Linked DNA regions of Homo sapiens: all the other regions are linked to region 3. Evidence: promoter capture Hi-C in human tissues and cell types (Jung and others, 2019). All regions are on one chromosome and are shown on one strand. Each heading gives the region's core, a stretch centred on a gene start or on the middle of the fragment in contact. The rest is flanking DNA. Distances are from core to core; before and after follow the strand shown. Region 1 has its middle 17 kb from the start of ODF2. Region 2 holds the start of CERCAM (cerebral endothelial cell adhesion molecule). Region 3 holds the start of SH3GLB2 (SH3 domain containing GRB2 like, endophilin B2). Region 4 holds the start of ODF2 (outer dense fiber of sperm tails 2).

Region 1 (3,367 bases), core at 317-2,816, 590 kb after region 3:
AGCCTCCTGAGTAGCTGGGATTACAGGCACCCACCACCACGCCCGACTTTTTTGTATTTTTAGTAGAGATGAGGTTTCACCATGTTGGCCAGGCTGGTCTCGAACTCCTGACCTCAGGTGATCCACCCGTCTCAGCCTCCCAAAGTGCTAGGATTATACGCATAAGCCACCACGCCCAGCCATGCTTGAATTATTACAGTGGGTTCCTAACTGGTCTCACTGTTTCTTCCATGGACCTGCCTACAGTTTATTCTCAGCACAGTAGCCGGTGTGATCTTATAACACTACATGAGATCATGCCACATCTCTGCCAGGGTGATCATGTAAAAATGTAAGTTAGATGGTTACTTCTTTGCCTCCATCTCTCTGGGGGCTCCATCTCAGAGTAAAAGCCAAAATGGCCTTCATGGCCATCCCTGCTCTGGCCCCAGCCTTGGCTCTATCAACTCTAGACACTGGTCCTCCTCTCTTCTGCACTGTCAGTCCTGCTTCTGCCTCAGGACCTTTGCATATGCTGTTCCTTCTGCTTGGAAGCTCTTCCTTTTGCTATCCCCAAGGCTCAGCCCCTCCCCTCCTTAAAGTCTTTTTTTTTTTTTTTTTTGTCTATTTTTTTTTTTTTTTTGAGACGGAGTCTCACTCTGTCACCCAGGCTGGAGTGCAGTGGTTTGATCTCGGCTCACTGCAACCTCTGCCTCCCAGGTTCAAGCAATTCTCTTCCTCAGCCTCCCACGTAGCTGGGACTACAGGCGCCCACCACCACACCTGGCTAATTTTTGTATTTTTAGTAGAGACGGGGTTTCACCCTCTTGGCCAGGCTGGTCTTGAACTCCTGACCTCGTGATCCACCTGCCTCGCCCTCCCAAAATGGTGGGATTACAGGTGTGAGCCACCCTGCCTGGCGAAGTCTTTTGTTTTTGAGATGGAGTCTCACTCTGTCGCCCAAGCTGGAGTGCAGTGGTGCAAGCTCAGCTCACTGCAACCTCCACCTCCCAGGTTCAAGTGATTCTCCTGCTTCAGTCTCCCGAGTAGCTGGCATTACAGGCGCCCGCTAGCACACCTGACTAATTTTTGTATTTTTAATAGAGATGGGATTTCCCTATGTTGGCCAGGCTGGTCTCAAACTCCTGGCCTCCAGTGATCCATCTGCTTAGGCCTTCCAAAGTGCTAGGATTACAGGCATGAGCAACTATGCCTGGCCCACTCCTGCGTCTTTGTTCAGGTGTTAACTTCTCAGATCTTACTTTGTATCTCTCCGCTTCTCATTTTTCTCTATAGCAATTCACACCCTCTGATCTTTCTTTGTTTTTGTCTGCATCCCTCATTAGGATGTCAGTTTTGGCCGGGTGTGGTGACAGAAGGTGATAGAGTGAGACTCCGCCACAAAAAAAAAAGAAAAAAAAGAATGTCAGTTTAATGAGGTCAGGGGTTTTGTCAGTTTCATTCACTGCTGAATCCCCAGGGCCTGACTGCGGCCCATGGGAGGTGCTTAATAAAGGTTAACAAATGAATGAAGGGGACACCTGGAGCCTGGAGAGAAGTGAGTCGCTCAAGGTCATAGCCATCCAGAATGAATGACTTTCATCTTAGAACGAATAAAGCACCGAGTCCACAGCTCCAGCCCAAGGTCCTTCTCACAGCCGTGCCAGGTCCTGGACCTCAACCCCAGGACAGAGCCAAGGGATACCCCAACCTCAGGGAGTGCCTGTCAGGCTCTGCCAGGACTGGAGTGCTCACACAACCAAGTCAGGGGGCCACATGGAAGAGGAGCAGGAACGGTGGAAGCCAAAGCAGCCATGGCCAAGGCCAGGAGCCATCTCCCCTCCCACCCCTCCAGCTGCCTGAGTGCAGGCATGACAGACAGCGGCTGGGCCCAGAAGCCCGACTCTCTGGGGCCAGGGGAGAGGCCTGCAGTTCCCATCAGAAGAGCAGAAGACGCAGAGCTGCTGCGGGTTGCCCCAGCACCAATGGGAGCTTCCCTATGGCCCATGCTTCCTTCCTGGTGTTGGCCCCAACCCAGCAGAGAGCATCCTGGCCAAGTCCAGGCTCTGCCACCTTGCGCCCTCTGGTGGCCACATTGGTTAGTGCCAGAGGGGAACCCAGGATCTCCCCCAGCCCCTCCCAGGCGGTTCCTCTTCCCCTAAGCCAGGGTTTCAGCTGCACAAGAGATGATCCAAAGGGCCGGGGGACATCAGCAGCCCTTGGACTGGCTGGGCCCACCCTGACCAGCAAGGTGAGGCTGGTAATGACTTCGGGGATGACCACATCAGCCCCAACAGGTGAGCACTCACTGTGAGCCGGGCTCAGGCTAGGCCACTCTATACCCAACCAGCCACAATGACCGAAGAGTAGACTAAGGCCCAGGGAAGGGATGGCACCCACCCAAGATCACCCAGCACAGAGGTGATGCTGGATCGGCCTGACTCCTCACCTGTCCTCCCCTCTCTGTCCCTCCAATTGCTCAACCATAGATCAGGAAGCCTCCTCCCAGGCCAGCTGAGATGCAGAGGCTCAGCCATGAGTTAAAAAATATAAAGTAAAAATACAAAAATTAGCTGGGCGTGGTGGCACATGCCTGTAATCCCAGCTACTAGGGAGGCTGAGGAAGGAGAATCGCTTCAACCCAAGAGGCGGAGGCTGCAGTGAGCCGAGATCACACCACTGCACTCCAGCCTGGGTGACAGAGCGAGACTCTGTCTTAAAAACAAACAAATATATATACATGTATATATATGTATGTATACATATATACATGTATATACACGTATGTGTACATATATACACGTATATATACGTGTATATACGTGTGTGTATATACGTGTATATACGTGTGTGTATATACGTGTATATACGTGTGTGTATATACGTGTATATACGTGTGTGTATATACGTGTATATACGTGTGTGTATATACGTGTATATACGTGTGTGTATATACGTGTATATACGTGTATGTGTATATACGTGTATATACGTGTATGTGTATATACGTGTATATACGTGTATGTGTATATACGTGTATATACGTGTATGTGTATATACGTGTATATACACGTATATATGTATATATACGTGTATATATACGTATATACGTGTATATATATGTATATATATAAAGTGGCAGGGTGCAGTGGCTCACGCCTCTCATCCCAGCACTGTGGGAGGCCGAGGTGGATAGATTGTTTGAGCCCAGGAGTTTGAGACCAGCCTGGGCAACATGCAAAACCCAGTCTCTACAAAAAAAAATGTGGCCAGGCATGGTGGCATGTGCCTGTGGTCCAGCTACATGGGAGGCTGAAGCAGGAAGATTGCCTGAGCCCAGGAGGTTGAGGCTGCAGTGAGCTGGGTTTGCGCCATTGCACTTCAGCCT
Region 2 (3,366 bases), core at 794-3,293, 610 kb after region 3:
TGGTGTTGTCCACATTGTGGTCCGTGGCACACCTGGGGACGGGAAGAAAAAAGGCTGAGGGGGCACAGCCACAGGATTGAACCCCAAGGCAGCCTTGACCCCAAAGCACTAACACCTTTGAGGTCGAGCTCTCCTTGGAACAGTGAAGGGTAGGTGTGCTACAGCAGAGAGGCTGGAGGCAGCACAGCCAGGTCCCCACCACAGTTCTGTGACCTGCTGTGTGACCTCAGGCAAGTCCCATCTTTCTCTGGGCTTCACGTCCTCCCTCTATAACTTAAGCTGTCCTGCTTATGTCATGGACAAAGATAAGAGAAGAATAATGCATTTTTTTTGAGATGGAATCTTGCTCTGTCGCCCAGGCTGTAGTGCAGTGGTATGATCTCGACTCACTGCAACCTCCGCCTCCCGGGTTCAAGTGATTCTCCTGCCTCAGCCTCCTGAGTACCTGGGATTACAGGTGTGCACCACCATGCCCGGCTAATTTTTGTTTGTTTAGTAGAGATGGGGTTTCACCATGTTAGCCAGGCTGGTCTTGAACTCCTCACCTCAGGTGATCTGCCCACTTCGGCCTCCCAAAGTGCTGAAATTACAGGCGTGAGCCACCACACCTGGCCAACGAATGCATTTTGAAAGATGAAAAGTACCTCGACTTTAAGGATCACACCTGGTGCATTCCCTGGTTACCTTCGTTAGGTGGGCAGATACCTACCTATGTGACCTGTGGCTGTGTGACCACAGGCCAGCCCCTGTCCCTCTCTGAATGGGGACTAGACAGAAGAGCTGCTGCTTTCCTCCACCCCCAGGTTGTAATAAGGACCAAACCATGCTCTAAGCGTCCCTAAGAATGCAGATGGGTCCAAGCTCTGCTGTCATGGGGCACAGCCTCCCCTCTCCTGGGGAAGGGGCCCCCATAACAGAGGTGGGGGTTTAGCCAAGTGCCCAGGTTTTGGGTGATGCTGCCCCTTTAAGCCAATTCCCCAGAAATGAAGACTACGTGTCAAGTCTTACAGGGGTGGGAACTAACAAACTCCCAAACTGTGGTAATTGTGGGCGGCCTCCCCAGGCCAGGGCTCCACCCCCCCAGCCCAACTGTGGTGTGTTGAAGAGGGTGGCTTGTCATTTTTCTCAGTTTACCCCCAACCTCAGCCAGGGACTCCTCCCTGTTCTGGTGTCTACAGACCAGGGGTTGTGGCCTTCGATCCCAGTGCCCTGGGGGTACAGAGATGCCAGAGGGGAGAGGCTCCAGGAAGGGGGACTGCCCTTGGCTGACAGGATCCCGCCCCTCTACCAAGATCTACCAAGAGAGCTGGCCCCAGCACGGGGGCGGTGGGGGGGCCGGTCTGACTCCCCTGCACAGCCCGGAGCCCAGTGCTGATGGCACCCCCAACCTGTGCCCGGAAGCCTCCAGCGTGGTCGATCCCTGCCACGTTGGGCCCCAGTGGACTTCAGAGGTTCCTGTCTGCTCCTCTTCAAATCCAGCCAACCACAGGTCCCACTGGGGTTGAGCTGGGCCCTGAAGGCTGGGGTGAAAAGGGCTGGCTGGGCCCAACCTACACCCAGGGAAGGCCCCAAGAGGAAGGAGTAGGGGACCAGAAGGAGGGGTGGGTGTCCCGCGTCGGCCTGTGGCCTCAGAGGTCTGTCGTCTCCCAGCAGGGGGCTCGGGGTCCTCTCTGGCGGCTCGGGCTGGCAGGGCCGTCTGTGAGGGGAGGGGCCTGTCTAGGTGGTGTCTGGGCAGGGAGCGAGCAGACAGGGCCGCCGGGGGCGGGGGCCATCTGCGAAGCTGGGGGTTAGGTGCCCACTCGGTGCCAATGCCCGGGTCTCTCACCAGAGGGCCATCCTGGCCCGGGGGTAGTCCAGCCGCTCCAGAGCGCCCAGGTAGTGGGGCAGCGAGTGTTCGGCATTGCGGGCCAGGATGGCAAGGACCACGGCGGGCAGCGGCGACTCCGCAACGCCCGCAGCCTCCAGCCACGGCCCCAGCAGGAGCAGCAGCTGGAGCAGCGGCGCGGCGCGGGCAGCGCGCATGGCGGGCGCTTGGGCGGCTGCAGCGGCCCCCGGAGCTCTCGGGCCGGCCGAGGGGAGGGGGCGGGGCCTGGGGCCCGGGCGGGGCCGAGGCAGACCCGGAGAGGGCGGGGCAGTGCACCCTCAGAGTGGGATCCTGCTCCCCACCCCTGTGCGTGGATGCTCAAGTTTTCTCTCCTTGGCCCGGGGCACCGGAGGGCCAGGGCCCGGGGACCCGCGCCAGCCGCGACCCTGGAGCAGCCCCGCCCGGCTGGACCCCGGAGGGGCGACGGCGGAGGGGCCGGAGGACCGGACAGGGGAGGGGTGCTAGGACGAGTGCGTCGGGGCCGGCCGGGCGTCCGAGAACAGTAGGGGCTCATGGAACCCCTGGGCGTTGAACCCCCGGAATCCGGATTCCCCGGCCCACGCAGCCGACTCTTCGACCTGAGCCGCAGACCCAGAGGGGCGGCGCCCACTCGGCCACCACCTCCCGGGCTTCCCCGGCTCCCGCCCCATCCTCCGCCCCGGGCGCCCTCTGGCGGCCCTGGCGCTAGCTCCGCAGACCAGCCGGGCCACGCGTGGGCCGGAGACCCAGCGTGGGGGGCGCAGAGGGAGTCCCCCTGAGCTGGGCGCGTCCTCCCGCGGCGGTCCGCTCCTTAAGTCCCCTGTGCGTCACCTCCTTGCGTCGGTCGCCAGCACCCGCATTGCTTCGGCCCTTTAAGAGAGCACAGCCAGGCCGGGCGTGGTAGCTCACGCCTGTAATCCCGGCACTTTGGGAGACCGAGGCGGGAGGATCACCTGAGATCAGTTCAAGACCAGCCTGGCCAAGATGGTGAAATCCCATCTGTACTAAAAATACAAAAATTAGCCGGGCGTCGTGGCGGGTGCCTGTACTCCCAGCTACTTGGGAGGCTGAGGCAGGAGAATCGCTTGAACCCGGGAGGCGGAGGTTGCAGTGAGCCGAGATCGCGCCACTGCACTACAGCCTGGATGACAGACCGAGACTCCGTCTCAAAAAGAAAAAAAAAAAAAGAGCACAGCCCTCACAGCCCTCTCTTGGTCTGAGTGTAGAACTAGGGGACACCACGGAGCTGCTCACTGCGACCCGACCCGTCCGTCCTCCAAAGCAGGGGATGTTGGCTCCCCTGGAGCACCGCCGGGGTCCTTAGGACCCTGCTGGGAGGGAAAGAACTCTGCAGCCTCTCGGGAGAGGAGCAGAAAAGGGAGCGGCCTGGCGGCACCACAGATGGGATCGAACTGGGTGTCTGTCACCAACCTCAGACAGGTCCCTTTCCCTCAGGAGCCTCTCGGGTAAAATCGGGCTGATAACGCCACCCATCTGGGAGGGTTTGCAGGGATTCCTCGAGA
Region 3 (3,336 bases), core at 145-2,644:
TCAGGAGCACCTGTAGGTCATCTCCTTGCCTGGGGCTGTGAGGAGCTGGTTTCAAGGTTATCACACATCTGTGCTCCCAGGGCAGCTCATTCTCTCCACCCTGACAGTCACCCAACCTTTGATCTCCTCCTCTCACCACACAGGGGGCTCCAGGCCCCAGCTCCAGAACCCCCTCCCTTCCCGTGACCGCCACCCCAACCCTCCTCCAATTTGGGGAAGCCACAGGGCCTCCCAGGCTGACAAACAGCTGTTCCAGCGGTGGAGGGCAAGTCCCAAGCCTGACTCCGGCTCAGTCACCAAGGTCAGGGCAGAAGAGAGGAGGAGAGGTCAGAGAGGAGGAGTAACGGGAGGAAACCCAAGGGAAACAGAGTGGAAGAAATGGGAATGGGAGGGAGGGGGTGTGAATAAAGAGCGGAGATGAAGAGGCACAAACAGGGGAGAGGCAGCAGGCCTGGGTGGTGGGAGGAGAAAGCAAGAGAGGCCCATTTTAGAGATCTGTTGCACATATTGGTGACTACTCAGTCACTTAGTGACTTTGGGAGACTGAGGCAGGCAGATTGCCTGAGATCAGGAGTTCAAGACCACCCTGGGCAACATGGCAAAACCTTGTCTCTCCTAAAGTACAAAAAATTAGCGGGGCATGTTGGTGGGCGCCTGTAGTCCCAGCTACTCGGGAGGCTGAATGAAGCAGGAGAATCGCTTGAGCCCGGCAGGTGGAGGCTGCAGTGAGCCGAGATCGCGCCACTGCACTCCAGCCTGGGCGACAGAGCAAGACTCTGTCTACAAAAAAAAAAAAAAAGTATTGCATATTTCAAAATTGCTAAAAGAGTACATTTGAAATGTTCTAACCACAAAAAAAGTAGGTGAGGTGATGGATATGTCAATTAACTTGATTTCATCATTCCACAATTTCATCACCTTGTAGGCCGTAAATATATATTTATCAATTAAAACTTTTGAAAAGCATTGGTAAGATGGCAAATAATATGTAATTATGGCGTGTACCTGCAATCATCTAAGAGCACATGTGTTCCAGTTTTAATAATTTTAGTAAAAGGAAAAAAAGAGGCCGGCCCAATCCGCGGCGGCAGGCGCATGGGGGCAGCAGCGAGCACTGCCCAGCAGCGAGCCCTGCCCAGCACAACCTGCTCCCCAGACCAACCCCCGCTCTGGCCGCGCCAAGGCCTCGCCCCCACCCATGTAGCTCCGCCCCACTGCCCTCTCGCTCCGCCCCTGTCCCGCCAGTCCCGCCCCCTCCGACTCCGCCCGGCTTCCGCCAACCAGCCCGGCCCCCGCCCCTCTAGCTCCGCCCCACTGCCGTCCCGTCCCGCCCCGGCACCGCCAGCTCCGCCCCCGCCCCTCTGGCTCCGACCCGCGGCCTCCGCGCCCCGCCCTGCGCGCTCGGGCTGGCTCGGCGGCTGCGGCGGGCGGGCAGGCGGGCAGGCCGGCAGGCGGGTGCGCGGAGGGCTGGTGCCCCGCAGCAGGTGGGCGGGGTGCGGTTGGCGGCGGCGGCTGGGCCGGGGGCTGCCGGCTGCGCTCGGGCCGTGCGCGGCGGCCGTGCGGGCACGCCATGGACTTCAACATGAAGAAGCTGGCGTCGGACGCGGGCATCTTCTTCACCCGGGCGGTGCAGGTGAGGCCTGGCGTCGCGCCGTGCGCCGGGGGCCCGGATGTGCGGCGGGCGGGGAGCACCCTGCGGCAGACGCCTGGGGACGCGGGAAAGCCCTCCCGGGCTGCTGCCCTCGTCCCCGCCGCGGCACACCTCTGCCCCCCTGAGCCCTTGCTGACCGGAAGAGGGAAAGAGCCCGTGCGGCCCGAGCCGGGCCTTGGCCCTGCTGCCTGGGGCGAGGCACCGGTGCCCACCCTTTGGGCTGGTTGGGTTACCCTGCTCCCCTGGCGCCTGCCTGGCTGAGGAGGGGAGGAGGCACCGGCTGGGTGCTACCTCCCTGCCCTTGTCCAGCAGTGACTGGCGCCTGGCGGGGCATTTAGCGACCTGGGTCCCAGGCCCAGGGACTCATGCGTCCACCACAACCCCTTCTCCGAGCCTCAGTCTCCGCACCTGTGCAATGGGCGGCTGGTGCCATGAGTCCCTCATGGCCATTTCACACGTTTGGATAGTCAGGCCGGAAGCCAGGAGTTGTTTCTTTTCTGCTCCACGGGAGGTCTGTTTCCTTGGTCCCTGGGCCTGGGGGATGGAGAGAGGGCTGGGGTCTGGCTGGGAAGCTGTCCAGGCCCACGATGCTGAGATTGGAAGAAGTCCTATCCGTTTAGGGGCAGAGAGTAACAGGCAACTCAACATCATGGGAAGACCTAGGGTCAGGTGTGGGTGGGAATGTGCCCTCCTGTGACCTTGGGGGAGGGGCCTTCATCTCACTGGGCCTCAGTTTCTCAGTCTGAAAAATGGGATCAGTATTCCTGCCTCCCAGGACAGATGCGAGGATTCTGTGGGACTCTGCATATGTGTGCTCACCAAAGGCAAGCTCATTATTGGTGTCAAAGTGGTTAATATTGCACCTGTGCAGCATGTGACCTTGGACAAGTCACTTCTCTCAGAGCCCCGCCCTCCCCTTCTGTAAATCTGGTGTAACACCGTGGTTATGGGATTCAGTGGGATTCCGCAGGCCCGGGGCTGGCCCATCCCAGGGTTCTGGGAGCAGGTCCTGTAGTCTTGTCTTTGTCGTTGTCGTTGTCATCGTTGTTGTTTCTGTTGAGTACAGTTCTCTCCCCACCCCCAACCCGGGCACTCCCCTCCCCAGGAGCCCACACCCAGCCAGCAACCCATGTAGTCATGTTTACTAGAAGGTGCTGTGTCCCGCTGAGGATTAGCATCCCAGCGAGAATTCACTGCTTAATGTGTTCCAAGTCTGGTGGGCAGCCCCAGCCCTAGTGGAGATGCCAGGATCCCAGAGCCCCTCGGATTGGACGGCCCCAGTCCATCTGGGAGGGGGGAACCCACTCTGCTGTTGGTATGGCAACCACACTATCTCCCACATCTGGGAAGAACCTGATCTGCCAGTTCCCTGCTAGGGCTGGGGCCCTGCTGCCTGACCTGGCCAGGGCTCTCAGGACCTAGGCAGGGCAGGGCCTAGGTGTGGCTCCGCTTGGTGGGAGCTGCCCCACAGGGTCACTGTTACTGGAGTGGGAGCCAGCAGTCAGGCCCCAGCCTCGGGGTGGGAGGGAGGGAGCTGAGAGCTTTATAAATAGAGGCTTTCTCTGCTCTGCACGCCCACCCCACTGCTGCCATTTTCCCGGGAGCAGCCTCGGACTCCAGCACCAAACCCCTTCCTCTTGGCAGGATTGGGGCAGAGTGGCAGGCCAGGGGATAGAGAGGCCTGA
Region 4 (3,616 bases), core at 500-2,999, 570 kb after region 3:
ACGTGTTATTTATTTACACCTCGACTCCCTTCAAAAAGGCTCTGAACCTAGTACTCTATTATATAAAGACAACAAGAGTGACCCTGTTTGCTTCCAGGAAGCTGTGACATCTGGGGAGGGAAGGAGCGAGGGAGGTAGAGCTAGGATTGTGTATACATTTCGTTCCCCCTTCCCTTTAAAAACGATTTTTAAACGTTTTGGTCCAGACTTTCAGCAAACACAATGAGGAAGCTGGAAGCCTCAGGCGAGCCTGCCCTGGGGACCCCTGGCCACCTTTCCCTGCCCTCCGGCGCAGGCGCCTCCCACATCGGCAATACCTGGGGGAGCCGCCTGAGGATGAGGCAGACATGGCTAGGCATCAAAGCCGCAAAGGTGGGCAATTGGGTCAGCAGGCTCTGCTCAGGGGGACCCAGAGGGGCAGGCTTGTCAATGAGCCTCTCAAGGGGCCCGGCATCAAACGTCCTCTCTGAGGGGAGAAGGGTGGAAGCTTTGGGGTTGGCAGTTGGATGAAAACTTGGGAGGCGCTCCTCTACTGTCCAAGTCGCACAGCAACTGTCCTGCCAAAGTAGGGGGAAATAGTAGAGGCTGAGCGACCTGGGGGCAGAGGGGAGGAAGGGGAGGGGACGGGGCAGAACCGCGAGGGAAAGGACCACCGCGCCCGGGTCCCACGCGGAGGACTGCCGGTGGCTACCGGGGGAAACCTGAGGCGCCGGCGGACGTGCGGAGAGGGCGGGTGAGAACCGCTCGGCCCCAAGTGGGCCCCAGAGGGCCAGAACCGCGCAGGGAGCCGCGGGGATGCTGGGGCGGGGCCGGACAACTGTCTCCTAGGAGAAGGGGCGTTACGGAAGAACAGATGCCCGAGAGGACCAATAGTGTTTAAAGGAGGGAGGCGCGGAGGTTGCACGGGCCCCGGGCGCCCCGCCGCGAGGGAAAACCGAACAGAGTTCTGAGCAGGATAGACGCCGGGCTGGGAGGGGGCGGGCGGGACCCCCCCCCGCCGGGCGAGGGCCCTGGCAAGCCGGAGACGGTGCCCGGGGGACAGCGCTGCCTACGGAGGGCGTACAAGTGACTGCCATGTGGAGGCCCGAGGAGAGGACGAGGCGGTCGGGGCGATGCCGCCGACGGGCAGCAGAGCGAGGGAGAGCCTCTGTCGGCGGAGAGAAGGGACGGCCACCCACCAGCAGGCAGGAGGGTACCGGTTTCTGCCCATAGAGAGAAAGGTGAAGCCCTGCCCGCGGGCGGCAGAGGAGGGGCAGAGCCCCGTGGTAGCCAAGAGAGGAAGGAGGCGGCCGACCGCCCGTTAGCGGGAGGAGGAGAGGCCCCGCGCCGGTGGGCGGGGCGGGGGCCCAGGTTCTGACAGGAGGGGGACGAGCGCAACGCGGCGGGGAACCCAGGACCCGACGGCCCCGCGGGGTCGACCGCGCCGGGGGTGCGAAGGCGACGGTCTCGCCCGCGGTGCCCCGGAGGGCGCTGGATCCCGCCTGCCGGCGGCCTCTCACCAGGAGCGACACGGCTGCGCCCAGAAACGCCGCCTTATGAAGTCGTTGAAGTCGGAGGCCAGGGTCGTGCCATGGAGACGCCGCGGCGGATGCAGTCTGGCTCTGGCAGCGGCTCCTCCCCGCTTCCGCCTCCTTTTCCGACACCCGGTCGGCAGCTCGCCCATTGGCCAGTTCAAACCCCCCCGGGAGCCGCTTGGGTTTCGCCATCGAGGCCCAGCCCCTAGCGTCACAGAGATGCCCCGCCCCGCCAGAAGGGCCGCCCACTTCCGGGCCACGCGTCCCGTCACCAAGGAGACGTGCTACGCGTCCAGCGGGCCTGGCCGGGTCTCGCCCCCCATTCAAGGCCTTTCCCGCTCGGCCCTGTTTCCCCTGCCTTGGATCCTCCCGGATTCCCCTCACTCAAAGGAGCGTACGGTTCCGACGCCCTCCCCTCGGTACCCACCAGGAAACTAGGCTCACAGAGGACCCATGGAACTAGTTATTGGGAGCTGCACACTGCCTCCGAAAATCCAGCCCTGCCCCTAGTCCACTATTAATGCGGAGATGGAGTCGGCTTCTGCGCATTCCCCGGCCTCTCCCCTGCCCACATCGCCTCTGTCTTGGCCCCAACAGGAGAAAGGGTCGGCATTCCCCTTGCTGTTCTGTTCACTACCTTCCTGCACTTTTTTTTTTTTTTTTTTTTTTTTTTTTTTTTTTTTTTTTGAGACAGATTCTTGCTCTGTTGCCCAGGCTGGAGTGCAGTGGCGCGATCTCGGCTCACCGCAACCTCCGCCTCCCGGGTTCACGCCATTCTCCTGCCTGAGCCTCCCGAGTAACTGGGACTACTGGCGCCCGCCACAACGCCCGGCTAATTTTTTTTTGTATTTTTAGTAGAGACGGGGTTTCACCGTGTTGGGCAGGATAGTCTCCATCTCCTGACCTCATGATCCACCCGCCTCGGCCTTCCAAAGTGCTTGTATTACAGGCTTGAGCCTCCGCGCCCGGTCTACTACCCTCCTGCACTCTCTATGCCGCTCTGTGTACAGACCTATTCTGATGAGGTCCTTGCTGGTCCGCCATCTTCTCAATTATGCTTCACTGTCAGCCAGTCAGGGGAGGTCTGTCACGTGGCTCATAATGCCGCCCTGGAATCTGGGAGACCTGAACCACCTCCGGGCCAACTGGGCCACAGTCCCTTGACCTTTCTCCAGTGACCCCGCAGCACCTTAGCCACACAGCTCCAGGGTCACACAAGTGTTTCACCTGCAATCCTAAAGTCAGACTCGCAAACAAAACCTGCTTTTCCGCCTCGCTTTCACAGTATACTGCATACTGAATTTGTTCTGTAATGTCAGGGAGCTCCCCAATCCCTTGATCCATTCATTGTCTCTCTGTTGAATAATTGATAGATTTCCTAATCCTCATTAACCATTTAAGACTGCGGTGGCTCACGCCTGTAGTCCCAGCACTTTGGGAGGCTGAGGCAGGCGGATCACCTAAGGTCAGAAGTTCAAGACCAGACTGCCCAACATAGCGAAACCCCGTCTCTACTAAAAATACAAAAATTAACCGGGCATGGTGGTGTGTGCCTGTAATCCCAGCTACTAGGGAGGAGGAGGCAGGGAGAATTCCTTGAACCTGGAAGGCGGAGGTTGCAGTGAGCCAAAATCACCACTACACTTCAGCCTGGGTGACAGAGTGAGACTCTTGTCTCAAAAAAAAAAAAAAAAAAAAAAAAGTATATACAGGTTCAAGGAAAAGAGGACAGGAAAAGGAGGTCCCGGTCCTCCTGGGGCAGGCAGGAGATGGTTCCCAGAGGTGATGGTATTGGAACTGAGCCATGAAAGGTGAGTGGAAGTTCGCCAAACAAGCAGCAAAGGGAATTCTAAACAGACTGCAGTAGGTACACAGGTACCACATGCAGGTACAAGAGAATACTGCATATTCTATGAAGCATCATCACTGCAGTCCCTTGAAGTGTTACAGGGCCAGCGATGAGAGAAATCCTGCCAAAGTCAGCAGGACCAGACTATGCAGCGTCTGATAGGCCAGCCTAAGGTGTTGGACTTCATCCCTCAGAAGCCTGGAAAACCATGAGAGGGTTTTCAGTATTTCACTCTAGGCTGGGCGCTGTGGCT

Evidence for each region. Contacts are between HindIII fragments. The study calls those that stand out against the background at their distance.
Region 1: a fragment that was not itself captured here is called in contact with the fragment with the promoter of SH3GLB2 in region 3 in 1 of the 25 tissues and cell types used here (dorsolateral prefrontal cortex).
Region 2: a contact is called between the fragment with the promoter of CERCAM here and the fragment with the promoter of SH3GLB2 in region 3, in 3 of the 25 tissues and cell types used here (dorsolateral prefrontal cortex, lymphoblastoid cells and spleen).
Region 4: the fragment with the promoter of ODF2 here is called in contact with the fragment with the promoter of SH3GLB2 in region 3 in 1 of the 25 tissues and cell types used here (lymphoblastoid cells).

What each region holds. Positions count from the first base shown.
Region 1 is chr9:128,437,501-128,440,867 of GRCh38, reverse strand. No RefSeq gene overlaps it. Among named protein-coding and RNA genes, the nearest start is that of ODF2, 17 kb to the left of the region's middle. RefSeq lists a silencer at 2,077-2,250. The HindIII fragment of the contact is 5,750 bases long and covers 1-3,367 here.
Region 2 is chr9:128,419,534-128,422,899 of GRCh38, reverse strand. CERCAM (cerebral endothelial cell adhesion molecule) reads right to left here and starts at 2,043. Exons shown (of 13, transcript NM_016174.5): 1 at 1,826-2,043; 2 at 1-32. The coding sequence starts at 2,022. RefSeq lists an enhancer at 1,308-1,497 and a silencer at 1,758-2,657. The HindIII fragment of the contact is 34,497 bases long and covers 1-3,366 here.
Region 3 is chr9:129,026,389-129,029,724 of GRCh38, reverse strand. SH3GLB2 (SH3 domain containing GRB2 like, endophilin B2) reads left to right here and starts at 1,394. Exons shown (of 11, transcript NM_020145.4): 1 at 1,394-1,633. The coding sequence starts at 1,571. RefSeq lists enhancers at 1-417, 418-1,157, 1,842-2,405, 2,406-2,969, 2,970-3,336 and silencers at 1,032-1,461, 1,502-2,011, 2,894-3,125. The HindIII fragment of the contact is 26,388 bases long and covers 1-3,336 here.
Region 4 is chr9:128,454,139-128,457,754 of GRCh38, reverse strand. It overlaps ODF2 (outer dense fiber of sperm tails 2), which reads right to left and starts at 1,749. Exons shown (of 21, transcript NM_001351578.2): 1 at 1,500-1,749. The coding sequence starts at 1,663. RefSeq lists enhancers at 468-1,203, 1,797-1,846, 1,204-1,939, 1,977-2,066, 1,940-2,676 and 1 more and silencers at 597-646, 857-1,006, 1,037-1,136, 1,267-1,576. The HindIII fragment of the contact is 20,941 bases long and covers 1-3,616 here.